Linked DNA regions of Homo sapiens: region 1 is linked to region 2. Evidence: promoter capture Hi-C in human tissues and cell types (Jung and others, 2019). All regions are on one chromosome and are shown on one strand. The core of a region is centred on a gene start or on the middle of the fragment in contact, and the rest is flanking DNA. Distances in the headings are between cores, read along the strand shown.

Region 1 (7,441 bases), core at 4,935-7,434, 260 kb before region 2:
CTGTTGTGTGATCCTGAACAAATCTGAACTTTCCTTTCTCCTTTTACAAAATGGGTATAACAACAATATTTGCCCTACAACTCCACAAGGTTGTGGGTAGAATCAAATGAAATAACCTACATAAACTTGGGAACTGTAAAACAACATACAGATGTTAAGTGGCTGTTATTGTAATGTTAGGTTACTAATGTGGCTTTTTTTTAAACTTTACCTCTAAAGGAGTGATTTAGACTTTCTGAGTATAATCAAATTAAAGGTTCTGTATTACTTATATTACTCTGGCGTTCTTTCCTTTCTTCCACATGGCTGAGAACAAGACTATCTCTTTTTTTTGTTTTTTTGTTTGTCTTCAGCTACCATGTTCATTTCTGGGCCACCAAAGAAACGACACCGGGGATGGTATCCTGGGTCACCTCTCCCCCAACCTGGCTTAGTTGTACCTGTCCCTACAGTTCGCCCTCTTTCAAGAACGGGTAAGATTTTAACAGAAGATGGATTGTAAGTGTGTTTTTAATTAGCAGAGATATCTTCTACTTCCATTCTTTCCCTGAATTCTTGACAATGAGTTATATGAGGATATTGATAGTAGCTAATGTTTTGTCCCGATCACATTTGCCTTCCCTACATGCACAAGATCATTACAACTGATCTGAATTCAACCTTTGGCTTAATTTCAACCCATAGCATTGAAAAGCCATTCGTTATATGGGACACAATGCTACCAACCCACCATCATAGAGCATATATGGACTTGTTTTGCTAGTAGTGGTGTTAGATTTTCCCTGCTGTTATCTGGTTCTTTATGTGACCCACGCTTATTATTTCTGACCTGGATGGTTCAGTCTGTGGCTAGAAACCTGAAAAACCAAAACCAACTGGCTCTCTTTCAGAACACCTAACTGTAGCCATTTGGTATCCACAGTTCAAACATTTGTCTACCTTGCTGAACAAACCACAGACAATTGTAAATATACTGGTTTTAAGACATAAATGAGTTATTTAAATGTTTGTTTAAATAAATAGTTTTAAAGACTACATAGACATCTTATATACACAAATAATTATGCCAGTCTGTCACTATGGTTGCTTGTAGGTAGTACTGGTTAATGATGAGTTCATCCTTCTTCACACTTTTCTATACCTTTCAAAATGTATGTAATGAACAGATATATGCCTTTGATAATCTTGGGGGGAAAGCTAAGATACCAAACAGGATCCAAAATATTGCATATGGAAAAAACAACTGGAAGGAAAATCAGCAAAATGCTAAATAGTAGTTGTAGCCACATGTTATGATTATGGTTAATTTTTTTTCTCCTTTTGTTTTTTTCACTTATCACTTTACACAATAAACCTAATGAAAAACACAACAAACCATTAGATTTCTAATGCTTCTCTGTTAAAAGTATTAAAACTGCATTGCTTTCTATTGTATTTCATTTAGTTTTCACGCCATCTTTCTTGTCAAACTTTTTTTTTTCCAGAGCCCCTTTTATCTGCCCCAGTTCCACAGACCCCACTAACTGGAATTTTACAACCCAGGCCCATTCCTGCAGGGGAAACTGTAATTGTTCCTGAAAACCTGCTGAGTAACTCAGGAGTTAGACCAGTAATTCTGATAGGTAAGGTAATGGAATTCCAAGTTGCCTGTGTCTGCTGGAATCTAGGAGTGTTTTTCCATTTCATTGTGTTTTTTCATGTATTCATGAAGATATTCATCCATCTGTTGATTCTGTCAGCTTTTATTGGTCAGCTCTTTCATGCTATATTAAACATGTGATTAGGAGCTGAGGATAAGGCAAAGTCTTTTTGCCCTCAAGGAGCACTGTTTAGTGGGGGAGTCTCACCTCGCATGAGCCACCAGCGTTGGTAAATAAGCATTACAACACATGGGCGATACCATTATAGCACACTGTGACATGTGAGCTCCTTAGAGGTTCACAACCAGGAGCAACCAGAACTCAGAGCTCTGAGAGAGGGCTTACCTCTGCCTGGAGGGATCTGAGAAGACTTCCCAGAGGTGTTGGTTAAGCTGGGTCCTGAAGGTTGGTCAAAGTGGACAAGGTCAGGGAGGAGACATTCCAGTCAAAGGGAGCCAAACCACAAAGAAATGAAACAAGCCAAGCCAGCTGAAAGACCCTACTCAAGAGAACCAAGAGGCCCTACAGTTGCAGGTCTGAACCTTAGCATCTTTGAGGAGGCTGAGTCCTTCCAGGTGGTCTACAAGTGGAGGTATAGACATTTAGGGGTCCCTACATTCCAGGACTAACTTAGTGCTTTTCATACCCATTTCAGGAGACTCCTTGGTTTAGGGCTGGCCTAGGCCAGAAGGAGACTGCTTGCTCTACCTTAAGGACAAAATAGATAGGGTGTTTAAGTTCCCCACATCTTTAGGGTGTGTTTACATGCAGTGTTATTTGCTTTTTGGGTTGGCCTGAGCCTGCCTAATTGGATGGTTTTGCTTGGAGTCATGTCCTTTACCTGGTTGCTTTATCTGCTAATCCTAGATCTGTAGGTACTGAGGGGATCCCAGTTGCTTAAATGCTGTATAGATTAGGAAGCTCTTTTTGAACATTAACATAGTGCCACTAAGCTTTGGAAAGATGCATAGAACGTGGGACCCTTTGGTCCTTTGGTGCCTGCCTTTTAGAAAGTCTCACAGAGGGACTATCCTCTCCATCAACCACCAAAACAGAGCATATTTTGGACATATTTTATCCTATCTATTTCAAAACAATTTGAGACTGTTTACTGACATTTAGGAAGACAACCTCACAAAAATAGCTAAGATAACAAAGGAACAGGGATCTCCAAGCACCTGAAACTAGAAGAATCTTGCTATTAATCAATGAATTTAGCTTACTTTTTTTTTTTTTTTTTAAAGAAAATCTCAGGAATATCTCCAGGTGGATAGTGTCAGAAAGGAAAGGAAAGGGGAAAGGAAAGGAAATCTCAGGAAGTGAAACATGTATTGTCATTTGTTTCTGTTTTTGTTTTTTGTCATTGTTTTTTGAGACAGAGTCTTGCTCTGTCACTCAGGCTGGAGTGCAGTGGCACAATCTCTGCTCACTGCAAGCTCCGCCTCCTGGGTTCAAGTGATTCTTCTGCCTCCTGAGTAGCTGAGATTACGAGCGTGCACCACCACGCTCAGCCTAGTTTTGTATTTTTAGTAGAGATGGGGTTTCATCATGTTGGCCAGGCTGGTCTCAACTCCTGACCTCAAGCAATCTGCCTGCCTCAGCCTCCCAAAGTGCTGGGATTATAGGCGTGAGCTGCACCCCACCTGGCCAGTGTTTTTTGTTTTTGAGACGGAGTCTCTCTCTGTGGCTCAGGCGGGAGTGCAGTGGCGCGATCTCGGCTCACTGCAACCTCTGCCTCCTGGGTTCAAGCGATTCTCCTGCCTCAGCCTCCCATGTAGTTGCATGCCACCATGCCTGGCTAATTTTTGTACTTTTAGTAGAGGCTGGGTTTCGCCTCTACTAAAGGTGAAAATGTTGGCCAGGCTGGTCTCAAACTCCCGACCTCAGGTGATCCACCCGCCTGGGCCTCCCAAAGTGCGGGGATTATAGGCGTGAGCCACCTTGCCCAGCCATATTGTCATTTGTTTGTTTTCTGATTTCTTATCTGAAAATAAACTTGATCAGGGACTTTATCAGAAATATTTTATCATTGCAGTTTTACAGAGGATACAGACATGTTTTGCAAACTCATCAGTCTTCCAGCAAAATATTAACATGTTCCTTCCATGAGAAACAGAGATAATATGAGTACAGTTGTCCCTTAGTATCCCTGGGGGATTGATTCCAGGCCCCGTCCCATATCAAATCGAATATCCTCAAGTCCCTCATATAAAATGGCACAGTATTTGCATATAACCTATGCACATCCTCCCATATACATTAAACCACCTCTCCATTGCTTGTAATACTTAATACAGTGCCTACACATCACGTCATTCACATGAATTCAGTGTACTACTCAGCCCACAGCAAATTCAAGTTTCACTTCTTGGAACTTTGTGGAATTTTTTCTTCTGACTATTTCAGTCCACGGTTGATTGAACGTGGAACCCACAGACATAGAGGGCCAACTGTATTTTCTTTCCTGTTCATTTAACTTAATATAAGGATAGAATTTGGAGCATCCAAGTGAATTCCCTGGGATTGATATGTTTGAGTGATTTGTTTGGTAGCTATCTCAGAGGGCAGGGAATTTTGTTAAGCAGCTTTGATCGTCGTTGAGCAAGTGTACCTGGTTGGACCATAAAAAGAAATGTTGAACTGTACTGACCTGCTTCTATTGGGACAGGCTATGGCACTTTACCCTATTTCTATGGAAATGTTGGTGACATTGTTGTGAGTCCTCTGCTGGTGAATTGCTACAAGATTCCACAGTTGGAAAACAAAGATTTGGAAAAATTAGGGTTGACCGGCAGCCAATTTCTGAGCGTGGAAAACATGATTCTTCTGACGATACAGTATCTTGTGCGGCTGGGTAAGTCATTTTCCATAATCATTTGCTGGTGACTACTTTTGAGGATTTTTTGTGATGTACTTTTTCTTTCTTTCTCACATTTATCCTCCTATCTCTTATTTTCCCTCTTTCGCTTCTAATGTTCTTTCCCTTCAACCCCATTCTCTGTAACTTTTCCCTTTCCTCTCCTTCATTTCTTTTCTACTCCTTTCCTTTCCTCTTCTTTGGGTCCTAGAGGAGATGAATTGCACCACCTAGTGTCCAGTCTCATGATGCTGCAAAGGTCTCCAAAGTAGTTAAGGTAGGCAGAACCTTAAAGGGTTGTGCCTTGAGCACCCCTTCTCTGGGGAGCTTGGCCAGGCCACCTTTCTGAAAGTGCACCTACCATCTGGAGTGCAAACACAGCCATTGTCTTAAACAATTATTTTCCAGTTTTCCACTTAGCCTTTTTATCTTGTTTATCCACTGGCCCTACACCCATTTTTTTTCTTCTCCAGCTACACCCCTTTGATGGAGTCCCATCGTGCTTTCCATCATTGAGGTCATAACTGTGGACCTCCCTGGAAGGTCTTTAAGCTATAGGGTAAGGGGGATATGTAGGTCATGAACCCTTCACTTCCTCTATCTGATATATTCTCCGAAGCCCCAAAGTGGGTGTATGCAGGTGCCCTGACAATACTAGAGTGGCTTAGCAGCATTTACATCGAAATGTCCTTTATTTTGCAAATGGCAGTAGGCCATCTAATTATACACTCACTCTATCACTTCAAGCCACTGATTTACTTAGAAAAATATTTGAGATGTGGCCGGGCACGGTGGCTCACGCCCGTGATCCCAACACTTTGGGAGGCCAAGGTGGGCGGATCACCTGAGGTGGGGAGTTCGAGACCAGCCTGACCAACATGGAGAAACCCCATCTCTACTAAAAATACAAAATTAGCTGGGCGTGGTGGCGCATGCCTGTAATCCCAGCTACTCAGGAGGCTGAGGCAAAAGAATTGCTTGAACCCGGGAGGCGGAGGTTGCAGTGAGCCCAGATCACGTCATTGCACTCCAGCTTGGGCAACAAGAGTGAAACTCCATCTCAAAAAAAAAGAAAAGAAAAGAAAAGAAAAAAATATTTGAGATGTAAAATTACACATAAAAATATTAGTATGCACTCTTGTGAAATTTTTTAATTTTAGAAAATACTTCAGTGTTAGGAGATAATAAAAACACTGGACTAAATAACTTTAAAAGAAAGAAAAAAGCTTTATTAGGGCATATTCAGTGTTTGGTGCATTAGCTAGCAATCTTGACTAGAACTCTGTGCCCTGAGAGGCTGCCTTGACTTGGCCTCTGCTTCGACATGGCCTTTTGAAATTTACAAGGCACCAATTTCATGATAAACCTAGGACTTACTAATGATGCTTATTGAAAGGTAATACAATTATAAAGCTCATCTGGGTCCACAGCTCATTTGATGACATAATTTTAATTGCTACATACTGAAATTAGATTATAGACTGTGTTCTAAGATCTAAAGCCAACTTCTAAATGCACCCAGAATTAGTAAAACCAGGCTTCATAAAGTGATGATATAGCCAACCAAGAAAATCACTATAGCACTCTTTTTCAGTTTGTTTGTTTGTTTGATTATTTGTTTGTTTGTTTTGAGACCGAGTCTCACTCTGTTTCCCAGGCTGGAGTGCAGTGGTGCGATCTCGACTCACTGCAACCACCACCTCCCATGTTCAAGCAATTCTCATGTCTCAGCCTCCCGAGTAGCTGGGACTACAGGCGTGAACCACCACACCCTGCTAATTTTTGTATTTTTAGTAGAGACAGGGTTTCACCATGTTGGCCAGGCTGGTCTCAAACTCCTGATCTCAGGTGATCCACCTGCCTTGGGCTCCCAAAGTTGGGATTACAGGCATGAGTCACCACGCCCGGCCTCCTTTTCAATCTTAATAGCAATTTTTAAAATCGGAGTCTAATTTAATTAAATGAACCAAGTGGTCAAAATAAGATATCTTTTCTTAAAGTACTAAATGCTCTTATCTTTTGTAAAGAAAAAGAAAAGAAAAGAAAAAAAGAAACAATTTCAATTTAATTACACAGATTCTTCTCTGACCTGCAGGATCAGTTCTTTCCTGAATTTGACTTGCAGTCAATCAGTTAGGCCTCTCGATATACATGAATAGCTATTTCTCTTTTAAAACCTAAGCTTTGTACATTGAGACATCTCTATCCCTCAACAACTGTTCTGGAGTCCTTTATTTATTTATTATTTATTTATTTCTTTATTTCTTGCCTCTGGAGGTTTCAAGAAGGCAAGCAAGAATAGTTTCACATATGGCATAGATTATAGACATTTAAAAAAATAAATCTAAACTTCTAAAAGGATTTTTAATACTTCAGCGGCTCAGTTACTTAGAGGTATCAGAGAAGAAGAAAAGCAAGATTCTTCAGAAGGAACCATACCTCTTCACTACAGTCACTTTTAAAAAATCTCAGTCATTTCACAGTCAGAAAATCTTTGAAGTAGATAATGAAATCAGCAAATCCAGAGATTCTTGTAAGGCTCTGAGTCTATTTAAACCTTGACTTTTCCTATTAAGGTAGTTCTTTCTGAAAAGTCATTAAAACTGATACCTCAGCTAACCTAAGTTATTGGAGATCAGCACTTGAAGGAAAAGATTATTGTTATCAAGCTTGCGAAAGTGGAGAAAAGACACCTGCAATGTAATTGTAAAGGCTGAGGATGAGGTACTGGGTGTGGTGGCTCACGCTTGTAATCTCAGCACCTTGGGAGGCTGAGGCAGAAGGATCACTTGAGCCCAGAAGTTCAGAACTGCAGTGAGCTATGATTGTGCCACTGTACTCCAGCCTGGCAGACAGACAGAGACCCTGTCTCTAATTAAAAAAATTTAAAAAAAAAATTTTTTTAAAAGGCTGAGGATGAAAAAGTGATAGTTGATTTTTGGAA
Region 2 (7,335 bases), core at 2,676-5,175:
ATGGAACCAGGCTGGGAGCATTAACTCACGCCTGTAAGAGACTGCAGTGAACCATGATCATGCCACTGCGCTCCATGCTGGGCAACAGAGCCAGATTTGGCCTCAAAAAAAAAAAAAAAAAAAAAAAGGAACCAAGCCTCACATCTAACTGTATGGTGCTTAAACATGGAATAATGATGAATTCCTGCTACTGCTAAGCAAATTTCTTGAATATAATTCTTGAACATCATAGTTCTTGAGAGAATGTTACTTCATGGACAAAATAGGCTATTATTTATAAAAGATCAGAATTAACTTGTTAAAATTAAGTTAGCTATCATGGAATTTTCCCCTTTACATCAAACATCAAAATGTTCTTCTTTCCTTTTTTTTTTTTTTCTTTTTGCCCAAGGTGTCACTCTGTCATCCAGGCTGGAGTCCAGTGGCACGATCATGGTTCACTACAGTCTCTACCTCCCGGGCTCAACTGATCGTCCTACCTCAGCCTTGTCAGTAGCTGGAACTATAGGTGCATGCCACCATGCCCTGCTAATTTTTGTAGACTAGGTCTCACCATGTTGCCCAGGCTGGTCTCGAACTCCTGGGCTCAAGCAATCCACCGGCTTTACGCCTTCCAAAGTGCTGGGATTACAGGCATGAGCCACTGTGACCAGCCTAAAATTATTTTTTTAAGGTAAACTTACCATCAGCTTTTCACACAAGTGTTTCAAGTTTAACAAAAGATACAACTCTACTTTAAATACAACTCACAGAGTGTTCCATTACAATAATTATCAGCTAAAAAAAAAAGCTGAGGCACAAAAAAGCAGTACCTTTTATAATGACTCTAAGATTCTAGAGCTGAACTTGAAACTCAAAGTTGCTAATCACTTGCAAAAAATTAAATTGTACCTGGTGACTGAGCTTAATAATGGTTACTCAGAAAAGCTGTGGCATCAACAACTGGAGACTAGCCAAGTGCACCTGCAAACTCAGGTGGTCAGAAGAGGCAGAGATCACCTTTGATAAATAGGGACAACCTACAAGCTGATTCTGAATATTTTTTGCACTTGGGAGCTGAGCCAGGGCGACAAGATTAGTGAATCCAGGCCCCAGAATGTGGCATGACGGCCACTGTGTACTCTCTCAGGGGTCTGTAATTGCTGTTCTCCCTCCATAACACACTCTCCATTGGGGTGGGGATGGGGGGAAGGGCTCAGTCAATGCTCAGATGATTCTAATTTCATTCATTAACTCAGCCTAAATCTGCAGAGTGTCTACTATGCTAAGTGACATTTCTTGTGAGATGATTCAGTTATGCATCTTCCTGAAAAGAAAGAGGAAAAAAAGAATGCAGAGAAAAATAATAATTTAAGGGACTGCTTTTCTATGCAAGAAGTACTAAGTATTTCTGAAACAAACATGTAGATATATTTGTACTTCATTTGGAATGGATCAAGTGAAAAAAAAGAAATCTTTTACTGGTACCTGTATCCTAATTCTTCACTAAGATGGATCATATGAAGGATATATGACTCCTTGCTTGTTCCCGTGAGGCCAGGCAACAATAAGATAGTAGGTCTGGTGCTGGCATCCATATAACACGTACTGTTATCATTATCAAACCAGTCCAGTGAAATCTGTCCTCCATCTGCAGTTTTAATAAGTTCACTGAAAGGAATAATTCAGAAGACATTACTATTTACATGTTTTAAGTCATGTCTTAATTTTAATTCTAAACACATGACATTATTTGCTCATCAAAAAATAACATTTTTCCAGCATTCACGAACACACACCCATATCTCGATCTACATATCATTTTCTTTCATTAGAAGGATTTTATGAAGATTAGTACCATCAAGTATTTCCAGCAACCTCCGTACAAGGTCGTATATAAAAATGAACTGCTAATTATTAAGATAAATGAATACTTACTCATTACTCCAAAACATCCAGCATTTAACCCTTGTTTGATTGAGGTCACTCAACTAATGCGACAGGGAAGTCTGAGTAAGTAAAATGCTGATCTAATCTCTGACCACTGCTCTAGCTCTTTGGACTCAATAATGCAGTCTCCTTGTATAGTATACTTCAAGATTTTCTTCTGAAATAATTTAAATTATTTCTCACATAGTATTCATGAACTTACAGAATTTTCCCAAACAAACAGTGCAAGTTCCAGGCAACAAAATAAACTCCAGAAGGATAGATGACTAAGGGAAATTAATAACAGGCACCATTTAAATCTGGTTCCTGATAAATCCTGGACCGTATCTTTAACACATCAAGAGCTATTATCATCAAGATCCCATTTGCCTGTCAATAGGAAGTCATTTTACACCAATAAATCGCCCAAAACCCAAATTAAGTGGCATCCTTCTCACCCCACCCCCCCCCCCAGTATCTGCTACTTATCAATGAATGAATGCAGATCATCAAAAGATCTGGGTCTTTCTGACAGATGTATGACAAACTGCGAGACAGTAATCCCCAAACACTTCTCTCATCCTAAAAATAAACCATTTACATCAGGTTGGCGGTTAGGGCGGGGACCAGGAGGCAAATACCTGCAGCTGGGGTATTTTCCTGCAGCTGGGGGTGGAGCCGGGGACGTACCTTCCATTTTCATTCCCTCTTTCTGTTCTATATACTTCCTAAAGCAGATTCTATTAACCAAGAACTGGGAATAAGCAAGCAAGCAAACAAACAACCTGTGATTTTGCAGAAATGACTGAAAACGGAAATTCACTTACTTCCTGTACTGCACCGGGGGCTTCGAAGTGATGAAAGGTCTAAGCAGGGTCTGTCCTCGACCCTCCCAGCACCAGACCGTCGGGTAGTACGTTTCTGTAACCACGGGACAGTGGTCTTGAAGGAAGCGGCTGAAACTCTCACCCCCGGTCACTAACTGGGGTTTCTGAAGGGAAAAGCAGTATCAGAGAAGGGCCCAGAGCAAAGTTTCTGCCAACCGTAAACCAGAAACCGGCAAAGACTTGTCGCTCGCGCGCGCGCTTCCTCCGATTACAACTCTTTCTGGAGGGCTGACGCAAAAAATTCACAGTCACAGAGGACTGAAACGGGGGTTTCGCCAATGCCCCGAGGGGAAGGCGAGAATCGCGATAAGGGAGTTTGTTTGTTTTTAACTCCGCCTCCCGGGTTCAGGGGATTCTCCTGCCTCAGCCTCCCGAGTAGCTGGGATTGCAGGCGTCCGCCACCACGCCCGGCTAATTTTTTGTAATTGTAACGGGGTTTCACCATTTTGGTCAGGCTGGTCTCGAACTCTTGACCTCAGGTGATCCACCCGCCTCGGGCTCCCAAAGTGCTGAGATTACAGGCGTGAGCCACCGTGCCCTGCCCGGAGTCATTTTCAAAAGCGCCACGGCGTTCCCGAGTGCGCCGCCGGCTTCGCGATCGGTGACCGGGCAGCGCCGCAGCGCAGAAGTCAGCCGGGTTCAGGCTGCGCTCCGAGGACCACCCGGCCGGGACCCCCAGGGGGCGGGCGAACGGGCGGGGCCTGTTGGCTTTCCCGCGCGCGCTGGGGGCTGCCGCTCGGGAGCAGCTCGCCGCCTATCCCCGGGGCTGCCGACCGCCCCTGGCCGCGCAGCCTCGCGCCGCGCCTGCTACCCTAGCTCCTGGCCCAGCAGCCCGCGGCCCTGCGCCACCCCCGGCTCACCTTGGCAATGCTGCTCAGGTAGTAGAAGGCATAAGCGACGCTGAAGCCCAGGATAAGGGATAAGCCCACCCCCGAGCCGAAGAACCCCACCCGGACTTGGTGTTCCAGGTAGAGGGAGAGCTCCCGGGACAACATCCGCAGGTCCATGGCCAGGCGCTGCATGGCCCCCGAGCGCGGCGCGCGGGTCCTGCGGCGGGAGGAGAGCCGGCTGGCGAGCGGGCGAGAGCGGGCGAGAGCGGACGCGGCGCCGCTGCCTACTCCCGACCACAGTGTCTCCTGCCTGGCGGAGCGCGGCTTCCGACAACGGGCGGGGCGGAGCGGCCCAGGGAGGCGTAGCCCGAGACTCCAACGCCGCCCGCTCCGCCCCGGCTTCCTGGAGCCGCCCCCACTGCCAGCCACTCAGGAACCTTCCAGAAGCGCGGTTCCAAGACCGGCCACCGGGAGGGCGGGCGGACTGGGTTCTCCCAGCTAGGTCGCAGTGGGCGATGGGGATCCCCAAGGGTGGGCCGAGAGCTGACGGATCGGCAGCGCTGGTTAAGGCCCCGCACCTGCAGCCCCAGTGACCTTGAACGATTCCGCTCTGCGGCGGGTGTCCCTAAACTAGCAGTTTAGGGTGTCAGGTAAGCGTGCCTTGCATTCAAAGATTTGGGGAGTTAATGCCAAAGATATGTTAGCAGGTAAGAATCCCACATCCTCTAGACGTTTGCGTTGGTCCTCAAGACTATGGAAAGAGAAAAAATATTCTATGAGCATTCAACAGTGAGGACATCATACTCGACTCTGAATCACTCTGTGAATCTTTTTAGTTGCTAAGTGTCACTTAAATGAGAAGTGGTCTCTGAAAATAAATGAAAAGGTCAAGAATAGCAACCGGGATTCAATTGTTAAAAGCCTATTTGTGGTTCATTAATGCTTTGAATTTAGAGACTTATGGAAATTCACACCGATTACCTAATGTACAGACAAGAAACCATTTATGAAGTAGGGTCTCCTAGGCTTATTTATGGCAATATGATAAATCAGGATACTTATGGTTATCTGAAATGGTTAGAATTTAATAGCCTATTCCTACTCTTATGAACTCCTTCCTCAGAGAGGTAGGAAGAATGGCAAGACTTAAACAGACGAAAGAAGGGAAAGTGCTGTCTAGATTATGAAAAATGCCAAAGGATTGTAAATTAATGATGTAATTTAGATGGGGACATGAGACGGACCAGAAGTGAGCAATTTATTTGGCTCCGATTTGGTCATTGCAACTTGGTGGTTGGCTGCAGCACCCAAAATAATTCAATTACCTTTACTGAGCCTGTTTTTTTCTTGTTTTAATAATCTGTAGCGTAACAATTTCTACTTTATAGAGTTCCCGAGAGGACAAGATAGTGTATATACTGGACTCCCCGTGAGCAGAAGTAATTTTCACGCTCTGGCTCTCACACCTGAGCACACATAGCAAACGTGAATGCATATGCTGGTTGCCATACTTGAAACTTCATAGCATTCTTCATAACCCCTGCACCAGCCTTCTGCACTACCTACCAATAAATGCATGCGTATTTCAGTTTAAGTTTGTTCTGTTTTGTTTTGTTTTGTTTTTTGAGACAGAGTTTTGCTCTTGTTGCCCAGGCTGGAGTGCAATGGCGAGATCTCGGGTCACTGCAACCTCCACCTCCCGGGTTCACGTGATTCTCCTGCCTCAGCCTCCCGAGTACCTGGGATTACAGGCATGCACAACCACACCCAGCTAATCTTGTATTTTCAGTAGAGACAGGGTTTCACCATGTTGACCAGGCTGGTCTGGAACTCCTGATCCACTCGCCTCGGCCTCCCAAAGTGCTGGTGAGAGGTGACAACGTGCTAGCAGCCCTCGCTCGCTCTCAGCACCTCCTCAGGCCAGGGCATCCACTCTGGCCGCGTTTGAGGAGCCCTTCAGCCCGCTGCTGCACTGTGGGAGCCCCTCTCTGGGCTGGCTGAGGCCGGAGCCAGCTCCCTCTGCTTGCAGGGAGGTGTGGAGAGAGAGGCGTGGGCGGGAACCGGGGCTGCTGTGCCCCGCGATCACGGGCCAGCGGGAGTTCCGGGTGGGTGTGGGCTCGGCGGGCCCTGCACTCTGAGCGCCGGCTGGCACCGCCGGCCCTGGCCAGTGAGGGGCTTAGCACCCAGACCAGCAGCTGTGGAGGGTGCCCCGGGTCCACCAGCAGTGCCAGCCCGCCAGCGCTGCACTGGAATTCTTGCTGGGCCTCAGCTGCCTCCCCACGGGGCAGGGCTCAGGACCTGCAGCCCGCCATGCCTGAGCCGCACCCCCCGCCCCACTGTGGGCTCCTGCGGGGCAAGCCTCCCCCACGAGCGCTGCCCCCTGCTCTGCCAAGCCGGGTTCCATCCACCGCCCAAGGGCTGAGGAGTGTGGGGCTGACGGGGCAGTACTGGTGGGCAGCTGCGGCTCCCCTGTGGGATCCACTAGGTGAAGCCAGCTGGGCTCCTGAGTCTAGTGGGGACTTGGAGAACCTTTATGTCTAGCTAAGGGATTGTAAATACACCAATCAGCACTCAGTGTCTAGCTCAAGGTTTGTAAATGCACCAATCAGCACTCTGTATCTAGCTAATCTGGTGGGGACTTGGAGAATCTTTATGTCTAGCTAAGGGATTGTAAATACACCAGTCAGCACTCTGTGTCTAGCTCAAGGTTTGTAAACACACTAATCAGCACCCTGTGTCTAGCTCAAGGTTTGTAAATGCACCAATCAGTGCTCTGTGGGGACTTGGAGAAATTTTGTGTCTAGCTCAGCGATTGTAAATGTACCAATCACCACCCTGTCAAAACGGACCAGTCAGCTCTCTGTAAAACAGACCAGGCAGCTCTCTGTAAAATGGGCCAATCAGCAGGATGTGGGTGGGGCCGATAAGGGAATAAAAGCAGGCTGCCCGAGCCAGCAGAGGCAACCTACTGGGGTCGCCTTCCACGTTGTGGAAGCTTTGTCCTTTTGCTCTTTGCAGTAAATCTTGCTGCTGCTCATTCTTTGGGTCCACGCTGTCTTTATGAGCTATAACACTCACTGCGAAGGTTTGCAGCTTCCCTCCTGAGCCAGGGAGACCACGAACCCACCAGAAGGAAGAAACTCCAAACACATCCGAAGATCAGAAGGAACCAACTCTGGACGCCCCTCTTTTAAGAACTGTAACACTCACTGCGATGGTCCGCGGCTTCATTCTTGAAGTCAGTGAGACCAAGAACCCACTAATTCTGGACACACGGGGATTACAGGCATGAGCCACTGTGCCTGGCCCAGTTTAAGTTTAAAGTGAAAGTATTATCGAATAAAATGTTTGTCTGAGCTTGGGCATTATAACAAAATACCATAGCCTAGGTGACTTAAACATACATGTATTTCTCACTGTTCTAGAGGCTGGAAGTTTGAGATCAGGGTACCGATGTGGTTGGGTTTTGGTGAGGGCCCTCTTTTGCCTTGCAGATGGCTTCTCAGGAAGCTCTGATGTCTCTTCCTCCTCTTTTAGAGGCACCAATTCCATCATAGGGACCCTGTCCTCATTATCTCGCCTAAACCTAACTACATCCCAAAAGCCGTGCCTCCTAATACCATCACCTTGAGGGGCTAGGGCTCCAACATGTGAAGGTGGAGGCGGGGGATACAAACATTGATGCCTATAATATTTTATGGCCATCATGG

What was found. The method cuts DNA at HindIII sites, captures the fragments that hold promoters and counts their contacts. A contact is called where the count stands out against the background at its distance.
Region 1: a contact is called between a fragment that was not itself captured here and the fragment with the promoter of ABHD3 in region 2, in 1 of the 25 tissues and cell types used here (IMR-90 fibroblasts).

What each region holds. Positions count from the first base shown.
Region 1 is chr18:21,439,916-21,447,356 of GRCh38, forward strand. GREB1L (GREB1 like retinoic acid receptor coactivator) reads left to right here. Exons shown (of 33, transcript NM_001142966.3): 9 at 354-473; 10 at 1,485-1,622; 11 at 4,309-4,494. The region is part of intron 1 of GREB1L-AS1 (GREB1L antisense RNA 1); the gene reads right to left. Among named protein-coding and RNA genes, the nearest start is that of GREB1L-AS1, 7.4 kb to the right of the region's middle. The HindIII fragment of the contact is 4,052 bases long and covers 4,159-7,441 here.
Region 2 is chr18:21,700,849-21,708,183 of GRCh38, forward strand. ABHD3 (abhydrolase domain containing 3, phospholipase) reads right to left here and starts at 3,926. Exons shown (of 9, transcript NM_138340.5): 1 at 3,656-3,926; 2 at 2,736-2,899; 3 at 1,468-1,650. The coding sequence starts at 3,817. It also overlaps a transcript of MIB1 not described here. RefSeq lists enhancers at 2,654-2,803, 4,264-4,333 and silencers at 3,324-4,093, 6,407-6,607. The HindIII fragment of the contact is 17,143 bases long and covers 1-7,335 here.